Linked DNA regions of Homo sapiens: all the other regions are linked to region 1. The links are contacts of gene promoters, found by promoter capture Hi-C in blood cells and fetal thymus (Javierre and others, 2016). All regions are on one chromosome and are shown on one strand. The core of a region is centred on a gene start or on the middle of the fragment in contact, and the rest is flanking DNA. Distances in the headings are between cores, read along the strand shown. Region 1 holds the start of SPCS3 (signal peptidase complex subunit 3). Region 2 has its middle 26 kb from the start of WDR17. Region 3 has its middle 97 kb from the start of WDR17. Region 4 overlaps LOC107984113 (a long non-coding RNA gene). Region 5 overlaps LOC107984113 (a long non-coding RNA gene).

The links. The method cuts DNA at HindIII sites, captures the fragments that hold promoters and counts their contacts. A CHiCAGO score of 5 or more calls a contact.
Region 2: a fragment that was not itself captured here is called in contact with the fragment with the promoter of SPCS3 in region 1 in 1 of 17 cell types (monocytes); the score reaches 5.5 in monocytes.
Region 3: a contact is called between a fragment that was not itself captured here and the fragment with the promoter of SPCS3 in region 1, in 1 of 17 cell types (total B cells). The highest score is 5.4, in total B cells.
Region 4: a fragment that was not itself captured here is called in contact with the fragment with the promoter of SPCS3 in region 1 in 5 of 17 cell types (monocytes, total B cells, naive B cells and 2 more); the score reaches 12.0 in monocytes.
Region 5: a contact is called between a fragment that was not itself captured here and the fragment with the promoter of SPCS3 in region 1, in 1 of 17 cell types (monocytes). The highest score is 5.1, in monocytes.

What each region holds. Positions count from the first base shown.
Region 1 is chr4:176,318,709-176,321,408 of GRCh38, reverse strand. It overlaps SPCS3 (signal peptidase complex subunit 3), which reads right to left and starts at 1,443. Exons shown (of 5, transcript NM_021928.4): 1 at 1,190-1,443. The coding sequence starts at 1,332. SPCS3-AS1 (SPCS3 antisense RNA 1) reads left to right here and starts at 899. Exons shown (of 4, transcript NR_186171.1): 1 at 899-1,264. RefSeq lists silencers at 730-809, 840-909, 1,030-1,149 and an enhancer at 1,132-1,632. The HindIII fragment of the contact is 6,231 bases long and covers 1-2,504 here.
Region 2 is chr4:176,038,404-176,041,103 of GRCh38, reverse strand. No RefSeq gene overlaps it. Among named protein-coding and RNA genes, the nearest start is that of WDR17, 26 kb to the left of the region's middle. The HindIII fragment of the contact is 5,754 bases long and covers 1-2,700 here.
Region 3 is chr4:175,967,670-175,970,369 of GRCh38, reverse strand. It overlaps a transcript of GPM6A not described here. Among named protein-coding and RNA genes, the nearest start is that of WDR17, 97 kb to the left of the region's middle. The HindIII fragment of the contact is 3,233 bases long and covers 1-2,700 here.
Region 4 is chr4:175,946,271-175,948,970 of GRCh38, reverse strand. LOC107984113 (a long non-coding RNA gene) reads left to right here. Exons shown (of 4, transcript XR_001741924.3): 3 at 1,273-1,326. It also overlaps a transcript of GPM6A not described here. Among named protein-coding and RNA genes, the nearest start is that of WDR17, 120 kb to the left of the region's middle. The HindIII fragment of the contact is 6,999 bases long and covers 1-2,700 here.
Region 5 is chr4:175,922,487-175,925,186 of GRCh38, reverse strand. The region is part of intron 3 of LOC107984113 (a long non-coding RNA gene); the gene reads left to right. It also overlaps a transcript of GPM6A not described here. Among named protein-coding and RNA genes, the nearest start is that of GPM6A, 110 kb to the right of the region's middle. The HindIII fragment of the contact is 2,103 bases long and covers 238-2,340 here.

The sequences.
Region 1 (2,700 bases), core at 194-2,693:
TTCAAATAATTCTCACAACCTAAAAATTAGGTATTACTTCCATCTTAAACAAAAAGAAATTAAGGCCCAGAATGGTAAGAAAACTTGCTCAAGACAACAACAGCTAACATCTGTTCAGTGTTTAATATGCACCAAGCTCTTCTAACCCTCACAGGGCTGACAATGGCAGTGCTGATGTCCACCCCAGGTCTATTCGAACAATATCTAACAAACATCAGTACAGTAATTTAAAAAAAAAAAAAAAAGGTGGGGGGAGAAGGCTCGCTATTTGATAACTGGCTTCTTGGCGATTCTGACAAAGAAATAAACTAAGGTTAAAGAACTTGTGTAAGACGGAAATAGAGTAGAAGGGTATGAGAACAAGAGATGGAAAAATACGACGATTAAAGACAAAAGTGCCAGAGAATAAAATCAAGGACAAAATAGGCAATAGCGAAATGGCACTGTCATTTCGAACTGCATTTTTTGGCGTTTTCGCAGACTTCTTCAAGTGGTTGGCAAAAGAAAAAGAAATAAAGAAACCCAACAAAACAAAAATCTCGCTGTATCAGAAGGCTAAGATGCTTAATTCTCTCAGTGCCCAACATCTCTGGCCAACTTCAAAGCAGCTCCAACTGTTTACTGCCTTCTGAAGGTGCAAAGGCAACAACTGTAAAGGGAATGTCAAACAGGGCAAACTCGGGTGATGAATGACACAAAGACAACCCCGTCCTGTGGCCTCCAGAGCCGCCAGGAAACCCCACGGAAGCCCGACCCAGAGCGCGGCGGCAGCGCCTGGAGGGCCTCGCATGCGGACCACGAGCGGCACCGGACGCGCGGGAGGCGCCAGCCCAGGCGGGCGGCGGCGCCGGCTCTGCTGTTGTGTTGCTCCCTCATTGGCCAGGCGTGGGTGGAGGGAAGTGAGGAACAGGAAGCAAGCGGAGGCACCGACCTGAGGAACGCTCAAAATTAAAATTTAAGAGCAAGCCCGGGAATTTACGGTGGAGGGGTGCAAGTTCCGAGGGGACGCCGGAAAAGCCTGCGACGTCCACCCCTGACGACCGCCCTCGGGGGCGAACTGCCGCTCAGGAGGGCGATCCGGACGCCCTGCCCGCGGCCCCGGCACGGCAGCCCCGGCGCGGCGGCCCGGCTTCGGCTTCCGCCCCAGCCCGGTCCCGGCGTCCTGCACCGCCGGCCCGGCCTCACTCACAGCATGATCCGCGAGACGTGCAGCCGCACCGGGACGCTCCTGTCTTTGAAGGCGGTGGTGATGAAGCAGCCGAAGGTGAGCGCCGCCATCACGCTCAGCGAGAAGGCGAACAGTGAGTTCGCCCGCGACAGCACCGTGTTCATCGCGATCGTCTCCCACGAGTCCGGACTCCACACGCACACCCAGGCTCCCGTTCCGGCGGCGGACCGGCTCCCTGCGATCCGCGCCGTCTGCGGTGCGCGCGTTCCGGGAGCGCGCGCCGCCGCAGCCCCGCCTCCTTTCCGGTCCTCCGACGCGAGCGCGCGCGCGCCCGCTTCCCGAAACACACCCACAGCGCGCACGGGGCGGCGCGGAAAGGGAGAGACTCAGCCGCGGGCCCGCCCCTCCGTCGCGGCCTAACGCCGCCACCAATCAGCGACGAGTGAGGGAGGGGCGGGGTTTGTTGTGGAAGACCCACCCCCTCCTCTTCTAAATTGCTTCTCCGACCTTTGGGTTCAGAGAATTGGGAACCGGTCGTTCGCTGTCCTTTTTCGGTTCTTTGGTCAGAGGTCTGGGACTGCGACTTCTTGATTACTTATGTACCATTTATTTTCACTTGAAACCGGCAGCAAGTTAAGGTGGTTTAGAATCTGTCCTGACGGGTGGCGTTTGGAAGCAGCACTTTACAAAACGCCTGGTCCTCTCCCTTCTTTGTCAAACCTGGTCAAAGTTAGGACTTGAGCTTTTTTTGGAGGATCTGAGGAGCAGTGGGGAGTGGGGAATTAGCCGCCCAAGTCCTTAAAGCTGTCACGTGCATCAGTATTTCCACCTCCAACGTCAGTCCAATTCCTATTAATGCTTTGCTTTGTATGGATAGCTAAAGATGTTTTAGAAGATAAGGGTTGAGGCTACCGATCCTAAGTATTTGCATTTTAACATGGTGATTTCTGATAAATAAAAGGATAACCTTTCTGGGTTCTTAGGAGCAAAGAAGATAATGGCTGCGGAATTGCTCTACAGCATAATGTATAAGAATTTCGTTGGGTCATTAATAAATAATGCAATTATTTTATCACATTTTCAATATCCTGAAGGGCATTAGGGTTCAAACCGAGCCAATCCTGACTCTGATTATACTATCTGCCAAAACCTTTGTTCCTTTCACAGCTAAGGGTTTTTATAAAAATGGATTCAGGGTCTGCTGAAATAAATTTTTTTTAAAAATTTCAGTCCATAAACCAAACAAAAATATCTGTCCTGGAATGTGATCAGGAACAAACCAGAAAACTGTGAACATCTGATCTTGATACTGGCTTATGTTGTCTCTTGTTAAGCTTTTGCTTCTTTGCATTATTCATGACCATTCAATTAATTTTTGTATAGCCATACAGGTAGGATTATTACCAAGTGCCTACCGTGTACCAGGAATAGTTCTAAGCCTTGAGAATACAGCACTAATAAGGCAGACTCCCTGCTCAAATAGAGCCAACTAATGAAAAATCGATAAAATAGAGACTAAAGAGAGATCCTTA
Region 2 (2,700 bases), core at 124-2,623, 280 kb after region 1:
CCATCAGAGAATATTATGAACACCTATATGCCCATAAACTAGAAAATGTAGAAGAAATGAATAAATTCCTGGACACAAACCTCTTTCCAATACTGAGCCAAGAAGAAATTGAATCCCTGAACAGATAAAAAATTATCTCCAAAATTGTATCAGTAATAAACAGCCTACCAACAACAACAACAAAAAGCCCAGGACCAGACAGATTCACAGTTGAATTCTACCAGATGTACAAAAAAGAGCTGGCATAATTCCTGCTAAAGCTATTTCAAAAAATTTGGGAGAAGGGACTCCTCTTAACTCATTCTATGAGGCCAGCATCATCCTGATACCAAAACTTGGCAGAGACACAACAAAAAAGAAAATGTCACGCCAATATCCTGGATTAACATCAATGCAAAAATACTCAACAAAACATGGGCAAACCCAATCCAGCAGCACATCAAAAAGCATATCTACCACCCTCAAATAGACATTATCCCTGGGATGTAAGTTTGGTTCCACATAAATCAATAAATGTGATTCATCACATAAGCAGAACTAAAGATACAAAATCACATGATTATCTCAATAGATGCAAAAAAGGCTTTCAACGAAATTCAACACCCCTTCATGTTAAAAATTTTCAATAAACTAGGTATTAAAGGAGCATACTTCAAAATAATAAGAGCCATCTATGAAAAAACCACAGCCAACATCATACTGAATGGACAAAAGCTGGAAGCATTCCCCTTAAAAACCAGCACAATACAAGGATGCCCTCTCTCACTACTCCTATTCAACATAGTATTGTAAGTCCTGGCTAGAGCAATCAGGCAAGAGAAAGAAATAAAGGGCATCCAAATAGGAAGAGAGGAAGTCAAACTAACCCTATTTTCTGGTGACACGATCTTATATCTAGAAAACTCCATAGTCTTGGCCCAAAAGCTCTTTAAGCTGATAAACAACTTTAGCAACATCTCAGGATACAAAATTAATGTACAAAACCTGCTAGCATTCCTATACACCAAGAATAGTCAAGCTGAGAGCCAAATCAGGAATGCAATCCCATTTACAATTGCCACAAAAGGAAAAAATACCTAGGAATACAGCTAAACAGATGGGGGTGAAATATCTCTGCAATGAGAACTACAAAACACTGCCCAAATAAATCAGAGATGACAGAAACAAATGGAAAAACATTTCATGCTCATGGATAGAGAGAGAAAACATTGTTAAAATGGCCATACTGCCTAAAGCAATTTATAGATTCAATGCTATTCCTATCAAACTACCAATGATAGTTCACTAAAAGCTAGACAAAAAAAAAAAAAAAAATCATATGGAACCAACAAAGAGCTCAAATAGCCAAAGCAAGCCTAAGCAAAAAGAAGAAGCTGGAGGATCATGCCACCTGAATTCAAACTATATCACAGGGCTACAGTAATCAAAACAGCATGGTACTTGTATAAAAACAGACACATAGACATATAGACCAATGGAACAGAATAGAGAGCCCATAAATAAGGCTGCACACTTACAACTCTCTGATCCTTGACAAAGTCAATACAAACAAGCAATGGGGAAAGGACTCCCTACTCAATAAGTAGTACTGGGATAACTGGCTAGCCATATGCAAAAGATTGAAATTGGACTCCTTCTTTACACCATTTAAACAAATTAACTCATGATGGATTAAAGACTTACATGTAAAACCCAAAACTGTGAACATCCTGGAAGACAACCTAGGCAATACCATTCTGGACATAGGAATGGGCAAAGATTTCATGATGAAGATGCTAACAGCAATTGCCATAAAAGCGAAAATTGACAACTGGGATCTAATTAAACTAAAGAGCTTCTCCCCAGCAACAAAACACAACAAACAAACAAAACAACTATCAACAGGGTAAACAGACAACCTACAGAATGGGAGAAAATTTTTGCAAACTATGCATTTGACAAAGGTCCAGCATCTATTAATATAGGAAACTTAAACAAATTTACAAGAAAAAAATTAACAACCTCATTAAAAAGTGGCCAAAGGACATGAACAGACGCTTTTCAAAAAGAGACATACATGTGGCCAACAGTCATATGAAGAAAAGCTAAATAACACTGAATATTAGAGAAATGCAAATTAAAACCACAATGAGATACTATCTCACACGAGTCAGAATGGCTATTACTAAAACGTCAAAAAATAACAGGTGCTGGCGAGGTTGTGGAGAAAAAGGAATGAATATACACTGTTGGCGGAAGTGTAAATTAGTTTGCCCACTGTGGAAGACAGTACAGCAATTCCTCAAACACCTAAAACAGAACTACCATTCAACCCAGCAATTCCCTTACTGGGAATATACCCAAAAGAATATAAATTGTTCAACCATAAAGGTACATGAATGCCTATGTTCATTGCAGCACTATTCCCAATAGCAAAGACACAGACTCAACCTAAATGCCCATCAATGATAGACTGGATTAATAAAATGTATTACATATACACCATGGAATACTATGCAGCCAGAAAAAAGGAATGATATCATGTCCTTTGCAGGAACATAGATGGAGCTGGAGGCCATTATCCTTAGCAAACTAATGCAGGAACAGAAAACCAATTACCACATGTTCTCACTTATAAGTGGGAGCTAAATGATAAGAACACATGAACACATAGAGGAGAACAACAGACACTGGAACATTCTGGAAGGTGGAGGGAGGGAA
Region 3 (2,700 bases), core at 150-2,649, 350 kb after region 1:
GTTCACTTTACTGTGTCTCTGAAAACTGTAGGGCATTTGGCTGCTGTGAGGGGTTCATGTGTTTGCTGCAATGAGAGTCTGACCTTCAACCCTCAGTTTCCTTCTCTGTTACAAAGCACAAGTCTGGTGTGTTTCTGTTTAAAAGCCAAAAAATCAGATTTCCGGTGAAAACAAACTTGTTTATTGAGAGGTGGCAAAGTGCAAGGGCAAAATAGTTTTATTTCCAGATAATTTGCCAAATATTTTTCAGTAGGAGAAGTTTTCTTTGATGAAAAATGTTTTTAGAAAGGAGAAAGGAAGGACACAGTGGAATATTTCGGCGTCATTGTGTTTTAAGGAACAATAATATCTGAAAGTAATTGCTGAATTGGTCCTGAAAGTAAAAGTAGTTAAATTGCTTTATTTTTGTGCTTAATAATTACTCATTTTCAAAAGATGATTGTATGCCTTTTGGTGGGTTTTAAAAAATTAATAGACATTATTTTTAGAGCCATTTTAGATTAATAGAAAATTGAGTTGAAAGTACATAGAGTTCTATTTACCCTGCATCCCTCCACACACACTTTCCGGTATTACTAATATTTTGCCCTGTTGCGATACATTTGTTGTAACTGATCAGTCAATGTTGATATATTGTTGTTGTTATTATTCTTATTATTTGAGCAGAGTTTTGCTTTGTTGCCCTGGCTGGAGTGCAGTGGCATGATCTCTGCTCACTACAACCTTTGCCTCCCGGGTTCAAGAGATTCTCCTGCCTCAGCCTCCCAAGTAGCTGGGATTACAAGTGCCCACCACCACGCCCAGATAATTTTTTCTTTTTTTCAGTAGAGAGGGGCTTTCACCATGTTGGCCAGGCTGGCTTCGAACTCCTGACCTCAAATGATCTTCTCGCTTCAGCTTCCCAAAGTGCTGGGATTACAGGCATGAGCCACCTTGCCTGACCTGATATATTACTATTAATGTCCATAGTTTACATTTGGGGTCAATCAATCGTGTTGCACATTCTTTGAGTTTTGACAAATGTATGATGATACCTATCTACTATTAGAGTATTGTACAGAATAGTCTCACTGCCCTAAGAATCCCCTGTGCTCTGCCTTCTCTCCCTCCTTGTACTAGACCTCTGCCACCACTGATCACTTTATTGTCTCTATAGACATTTTGTCTTTTCCAAAATGTCATATAGTTGCAGTCATATAGTACATAGCCTTTTCAATTAGCTTCTTTTACCTAATAATATGTATTTAAGATTCCTTATCTTTTCATGGCTTGATAGCTCATTACTTTTTATTGTTGTAAAACATTACATTGCATGGAAGTGCTACAATTTATCTATTCGCCTAGTGAAGGATATATTGGTTGTTTCCAAGTTATTTGCAATTATGAATGAAACTGCCATAAATATCCATAAATTTTGTGTAGTCTAAAGTTTTTAATTCATGTAGGTAAATACCTAGAATCATATGCCAAATGTATTTTTAGTTTTATAAAATACTGCCAAACTGTTTTCTAAAATGGCTGTACCATTTTGCATCTCTACCAGCCCATCAATGAATGAGAACTCCTATTTCTCTACATCCTTGCCAGCATCTGATATTGTCAGTGTTTTGGATTTTTGCCATTCTCACAAGTGTGTAAACGTATCTTATTCTTTTATCCTTCAGTTGTTTAAATGACATATGATGTGGAGTATTTTTTCATATGATAATCTATAATCTCTATGTCATCTTTGGTGAGATGTTAGGTCAGATTTATTGTCCGTTTTTTAATTGGGTTATCTGTTCTATTACTGTAGATATTTAAGAAATCTTGATATATTTTGGATGCCAGTCATTAATCAAATATGTGTTTTGCAAAGATTTTTCTCCCAGCTGGTGGCCTGTCTTTTAATTCTCTTTACAGCATCTTTTGCCAAGCAGCAATGATTAATTTTAATGAAGTCCATCTTATCAATATTTTCTTTCATGAGTCATATGTTTGGTAATCTGTCTAAAAATTCATCACTAAACCTAAAATCACTTACATTTTTCTCCTATGTCATCCCCTAAGATATTTACAGTTTTGTGGTTTACATTTAGGTCTATGATGTCCTTTGTGTTTATTTCTGTGAAAGCTATAATAACTCCTTCTGTATTCGTTCTTTTTTTGCCTATGGATGTCTACTTGTTCCAGCATCTTTGGTTTAAAAGGCTGTTTTTTTTTTCATTGAGTTGCTTTTGCTCCTTTGCCAAAGATCAATTGACTGTGTTTGTGTAGTTCTATTACTACGCTCTCGATTCCGTTCCATTGATTTATTTGTCTATTCTTTTGCCAGTATTACGCTGTTTTGATTGCTATAACTTTGTGGTAAGTCTTAAAGTCAGGTGATATCAGTCCTCCAACTTTGTTCTTCTCCTTCAACATCGTGCTGTTGATGTTGTATTTTTTCTGTTTCTTTCCATATAAAATTTAGAATCAATTTATTGATAACTTGAAAATAATTGGCTGAGATTTAGATTGGGATTACATTGCAACTATAGATCTAATTGGGAAGAACTGACATCTTGACAATATTGACTCTTTCTATCCATGTACATGGGGTACCTCCATTTATGTAGATCTTGTCTGACTTCATTAATCAGAATGTTGTAGTTTTTCATATAGTTCTTGTGTATATTTTGTTAGATTTATACCTAGGTATTTCATTTCTCTAATGGTAAT
Region 4 (2,700 bases), core at 82-2,581, 370 kb after region 1:
ACACACACACACTTACCACCAAATGCAGTCTTGTTGGTAGAATAAGAAAAGTATCTCATCTTTATCAGGAAATTATTGCTTGTTTTCAAGGATCTATGGCATTTTAATGATTGTTCTTTGCTCAATCTAGTAACAATTGATAGTAAGTTAGTATTAACATTGTTATTTTACTGCGTAGGGGCATGAGTCCATAGCATAACTTTGTGGCCAGTGTTTCAGGATTCCTGCAGAAGGAAAAGACAGAATCACAATTATAATTCTTCTCACTTCCAGTTAGCATTTTCTGATTTCTTATGTGGTTGTATTAACCCATATGATATATTTGTGTTTTTGAGTTACGATAATGAATTATATAAAGTTTGATGGATTGATCATAATTTTAGAGTTCAAATATTCAAAAGTCAAACAATGTAAAGGAGGTAGAATCAGATGTGGCATCTTAGTTTGGACTGCTGTAACACAATACAATAGACTGTGGGGCTTAATCAACAAACCTTTATTTCTCAGAGTTCTGGATGCTGGGGGTCCAAAACCAGGGTGTGAGCATGGTCAGGTTCTCAGCGAGGGCCCTCCTCCCGGCCCACAGATGGCCATCTTCTCATTGTATTCTTCTATGAAGGAAAGAAAAATCATTTCTCTCATGTCTTTTCTTATGGAAACTAATTCTATTTATGAGAGCTCCACCCTCATGACCTAATTACCTCCCAAAGGTCTCACCTCTTAATACCATCACTTTGAGGGTTAGGATTTCAACATGTGAACTTTCAGGGGGACACATCCTGTCTATAACATGAGGGTATCATAATATTGGAGCAAAAAATCACAAAAACATGTCCTCTCTGTAGCACTTATTAAGCTGCAAGTATTATCTTCAGGTGTCCTCTGCATTTACTAACTCTGAAATGGGATGTGTTTGGAAAACACATTGCTATTGCTATTGCTATTGCTATTGCTAGGTGCTATGTTGGCATATAGTGTTGCATAGAAAAAAAGTAGGGCTTTGTTCCTTCATTCATCTTTTTATTCATATATGAATGCATGCATACATTCACTAATTATCAAGTGCCTACTGTGTTCTAGGTATTTTACTAAAAAATCTAGAATATGATGAGGAAATTGAGAACACAATATTTTCATATTTTCTTTGAAAAAAGTAGTGAGGAGACAACATAGTGTACTTGAAAAATATACTCAGCCCTCAGTAGTAATATTGATTGTGCAATTAAAATGTCGGGTGTCTTTGGTTAAATTATTTGTGTTTTTTTATTTTAGCTGAGTGATCATAGTTCCTGCTCTATTAGCCATTCATCTGGAGAAACAAATGAGGTAATGAATGCAAGAACATTTGCAGAATACGTATTACAACACAAATGCTCATTATTATCAGGAATAACTTGAAAATGCATGTGGGATTTATGATGTGCTTTTATAATATTTTATCTTGAAGACATCATTATTTTTGAGTTCTTCAGACTTAAGAAATATTATTCTTAAGAATATTACACTTAATAAATATTATTCTTAAGAATGTTAGACTTAAATATTATTCTTAAGAATATTAGACTTAAGAAATATTATACTTAATATTGTACTTAAGAAATATTATTAAGATAGTGTCTTTAAATGACTTTCTTCAGTCGAAGTTTTCCCTCTAGTGGTTGCTGTGGAAATCACAGGAAGATTTTCTAATGCTAAATGTTCAAATGGAAAATAAACACATAAGAATTGAAAAACGAATAGCCAGAATTATTGAGGAAATTCGAGCTAGTGTTTTTTTTTTTTTAAAGACTCTGTAGTTAGATTTTAAAATTATATAACAGCACTCAGTTTCTGAAAATTAGAAAGAAAATTATTTGGTCCTTTTATGGCATCAAATGGATTTTAATGAAGATGATGATTAATATATCTAGGCTTGAAGAAAGCAATAAGAAAGCCACACACACTTCATTTCATCCTATAAATGAAGCATTTTCAAATGCAGGCTCTTAAATGATTTTGCTTTCTTTTTTGATCTGGCTTCCAGTACAGCAGTAATCTCCAGTTTTGGCTTCCTCTCAGGAAGTTGAGCAGAAGTTGTGCGTGAATAAGCATATTTTGGTTTTTCTTAAAGGCACCTTTCTTATAAATCACTCCCCAAATCAGAAACACTGAAATGTGATGGTAGGATAAAGGCATTTTAAAAATCCAAGCCCCAGAATGCTCTACCAGGCCCCAATTGTCTGTCCTCTGCCCACCTCTGTAGCCTGGCATCGTCCTGCCCTGCCCTTGCCCACAGTGCTTGGGCTGCTGCCATCTTTATCCCTCGGACACTCCACAGCTGTGCTTGCGGTTCCCTGTTCTTGACATGCTCTGCCTCACATCGCTGGCTTCTATGGACCACCTGCCTCAAAAACGTCTTCCCTGACCCACCTAGAAAAGTAGGCTTTGACAGTTCATCTTCATCACATCACCCATTTATTCACTCCAGAACTCTTACCATCATCTAAATAGTGTAATTTATTTTCTACTAGTTTTTGTCTGTCTCCCTTAGAAGAATGGAAGCTACATGACACAGAGATTTATGCATCTTTTCATGATTGTGACCCAGACCCTAGAACAGTGCTTCACACAAGGCAGGTGCTTGATATTGGTTGGCACAATGAATAAATGAATGGAAGATGATAGGAACATTAACTAATCAGTGTTATTTGTTTAAAAATT
Region 5 (2,700 bases), core at 40-2,539, 400 kb after region 1:
ATCTTCATAATATAACTGCCAGACTTTTAAAAAGTTGCTGATTCTTCCTCAGTGGTTGTGTGTTTCTGATTTTCATGTGATCAGGTATAGTAATTATTATGATCCCTGGTTGACAAACACTTTGAAAACTTACATATTCATTATTAATTTCTCTCAGATGATAAATGGAAGTGTGGTATTAATATTTTCATTAAACATGAACTTAAGAACTAATGTTCTTTACAAAATTAAAAAGCTTTCCCAAAATAAATTGTATAAATAATTGTAGATTTGCACCACACAATAAATGACAAAACCACTGTAGCACAAGTATTTCAGACTTCTCTCTTTTTTTTTTTTTTTTTTTTGAGACAGATTTTCACTCTGTTGCCTAGGCTGGAGTGCAGTAGTGTTATCTCCACTCACTGCAAACTCTGCCTCCTAGGTTCAAGTGATTCTCCTGCCTCAGCCTCCCAAGTAGCTGGAATTACAGGCGTGGGTCACCATGACTGACTAATTTTTGTATTTTTAGTAGAGACGGGGTTTTGCCATTTTGGCCAGGCTGGTCTCGAACCCCTGACCTCAGGTGATCCGTGTGCCTCGGCCTCCCAAAGTACTGGGATTACAGGCTTGAGCCATCCCACTTGGCCTCAGGCTTCTCTTGATTCGTTCTCAGGCAGAAGCACTCAGCCTTGATTTCCCTCATATATTTCATATACACCTCACCTATCCTTTCCCATATTCCTTACTTATCTCTCTGACTAGTGGCCTGTCTGCTGTGTTCCTTTCGCAGTCTTTAGCAAGGGCCACAGCACCTTTGGGGGTTACAATGTGTGGTCGGAATGGCAGGAGCATCAAAGCATTCTCTCACTGCCACTTTGGTCTGTTCCTAGAAAATGGTGTCCGGTGTAATTCTTTTTGTCTTTAATTATACTGCCTGCTGTTTCTGTAAGGTGATTTGAGTAATATTTCATTTGGCGAACGTCAGCAATAAAGACAGGTCACTGCTAACCTTTAGATTTAAGCATGTGTTAAAATGAGAGCTCTAATTGTTGCATAAGATTCCCACACGCTACTAATATGGTCGTGTCAGAAACAGGAAGCAGGAAGTAGAAAGTAGAGAGCTACCAAATGCATCTTTGCTTATTTGAGTGCAACTATTAATAATGATTATTTATTTGAAAGGAAATACCTAGGACAAATACTCGAATAGGACTATTCTAGGCAAACCTAGATGATCCCAGGCAAATCAGGAATGATGACCATTTTTACTCTTCATGCTTGTTGTCTTATGATATCAAGATGGCTGAGGCAATGCCAGCCATGAGGACTTGATTCAAAAGCAGAAAGATGAGATTGGGCATGATGGCTCACAGCTGTAATCCCAGCACTTTGGGAGGCTGAGGCAGGAGGATCTCTTGAGCTCAGGAGTTGGATACCAGCCTGAGCAACATGATGAGACCCTGTGTCTACAAAAAATACAAAAATTAGCTGGGCATGGTGGTGCATGCCTGTGGTCTCAGCTACTTGGGAGGCTGAGGTGGGAGGATGACTTGAGCATGGGAGGCAGAGGCTGCAGTGAGCCAAGCTCACGCCACTGCACTCCAGCCTGGGCAAGAGAGCCCGATCTTGTCTTAAAAACAAACAAACAACAACAAAAAAACACAAAGCAACAAAAAAAACCCCAAAACTGCAGGAAGGTGAGCATGGAGTATTGGAGGCTTGGAACCTTCCCCTCCATCACCGACTTCTGCTCACACTTCATCTGCTGATGAGGCAGGTATATGCTTGCCTCTCACTATTCAATGTGTGTTACTTTCCCAGGTATCTCGTAGCCAGAACTTGAACTCTAAATTCAATGTGCTCATACACATTCCCATGGCTCTCTACCTTTGCAGTAAAATATTCTTCTAAAGAAAAAACACTCTCAAGTTGTTAATCTTTTCACTTGTATGTTGTGTATATATATATATATATATATATATATATATAAATCATGTTATGAAATGTCAGGGACTATAAAGATTGTCTTTGACAAAGTTTGTAATAACTGTTTAACCTATACCTTAGCAAAGATTCAGCATTTATATTTTCTAGAAAAAGATTTATAAATCAATTTTTATATGAATAATATAGTATCTACATATGAAGTCATGTTATTATGATATCCTAGACAAATAACAAGCGTGGATTATATTTTAGTTACCAGTACAGATAAAAATGAGCTACAAGATGTACTGATTAAATTATAGGGCAATTGTAGTGGGCAATGATGTGTTTCTGTTTATAACTGCTAATACAGTATCTCTTTTCATCAGTTAATGAAATGAAGAAAAGATAGGAAAAGAAAAGTTGAAAGCTTTTTCATATTCAATTAAATTTTATGTTAGGTAGATTTAAAATTACCAGTAGCTAGAGATTTTTGCTTTAGAGTTTGTCAGAGTTTTATAATGTAAGTGTTACTGTAAGCCCCAAATAAACTCATCTTTTTCCAGACTTTGACTTCATTCCACTAGAAGGGAAATCAAATGAGCTAGTTTCATCTATGTAGAGATGTTCAAATTGGGCTTCTTGAATTGCTTTCTTCCTTTTATTTCATTATACCACCTTGGAAAAGTTTTCATTTCTCCAATATCAGATTTCTTCTTTTTGGTGTGAGTTTCAGAGCAGAGGTAAGTCTGGAAGCCTTTGGGAACCTTTCCAGTTTGGCTTCTATCTACA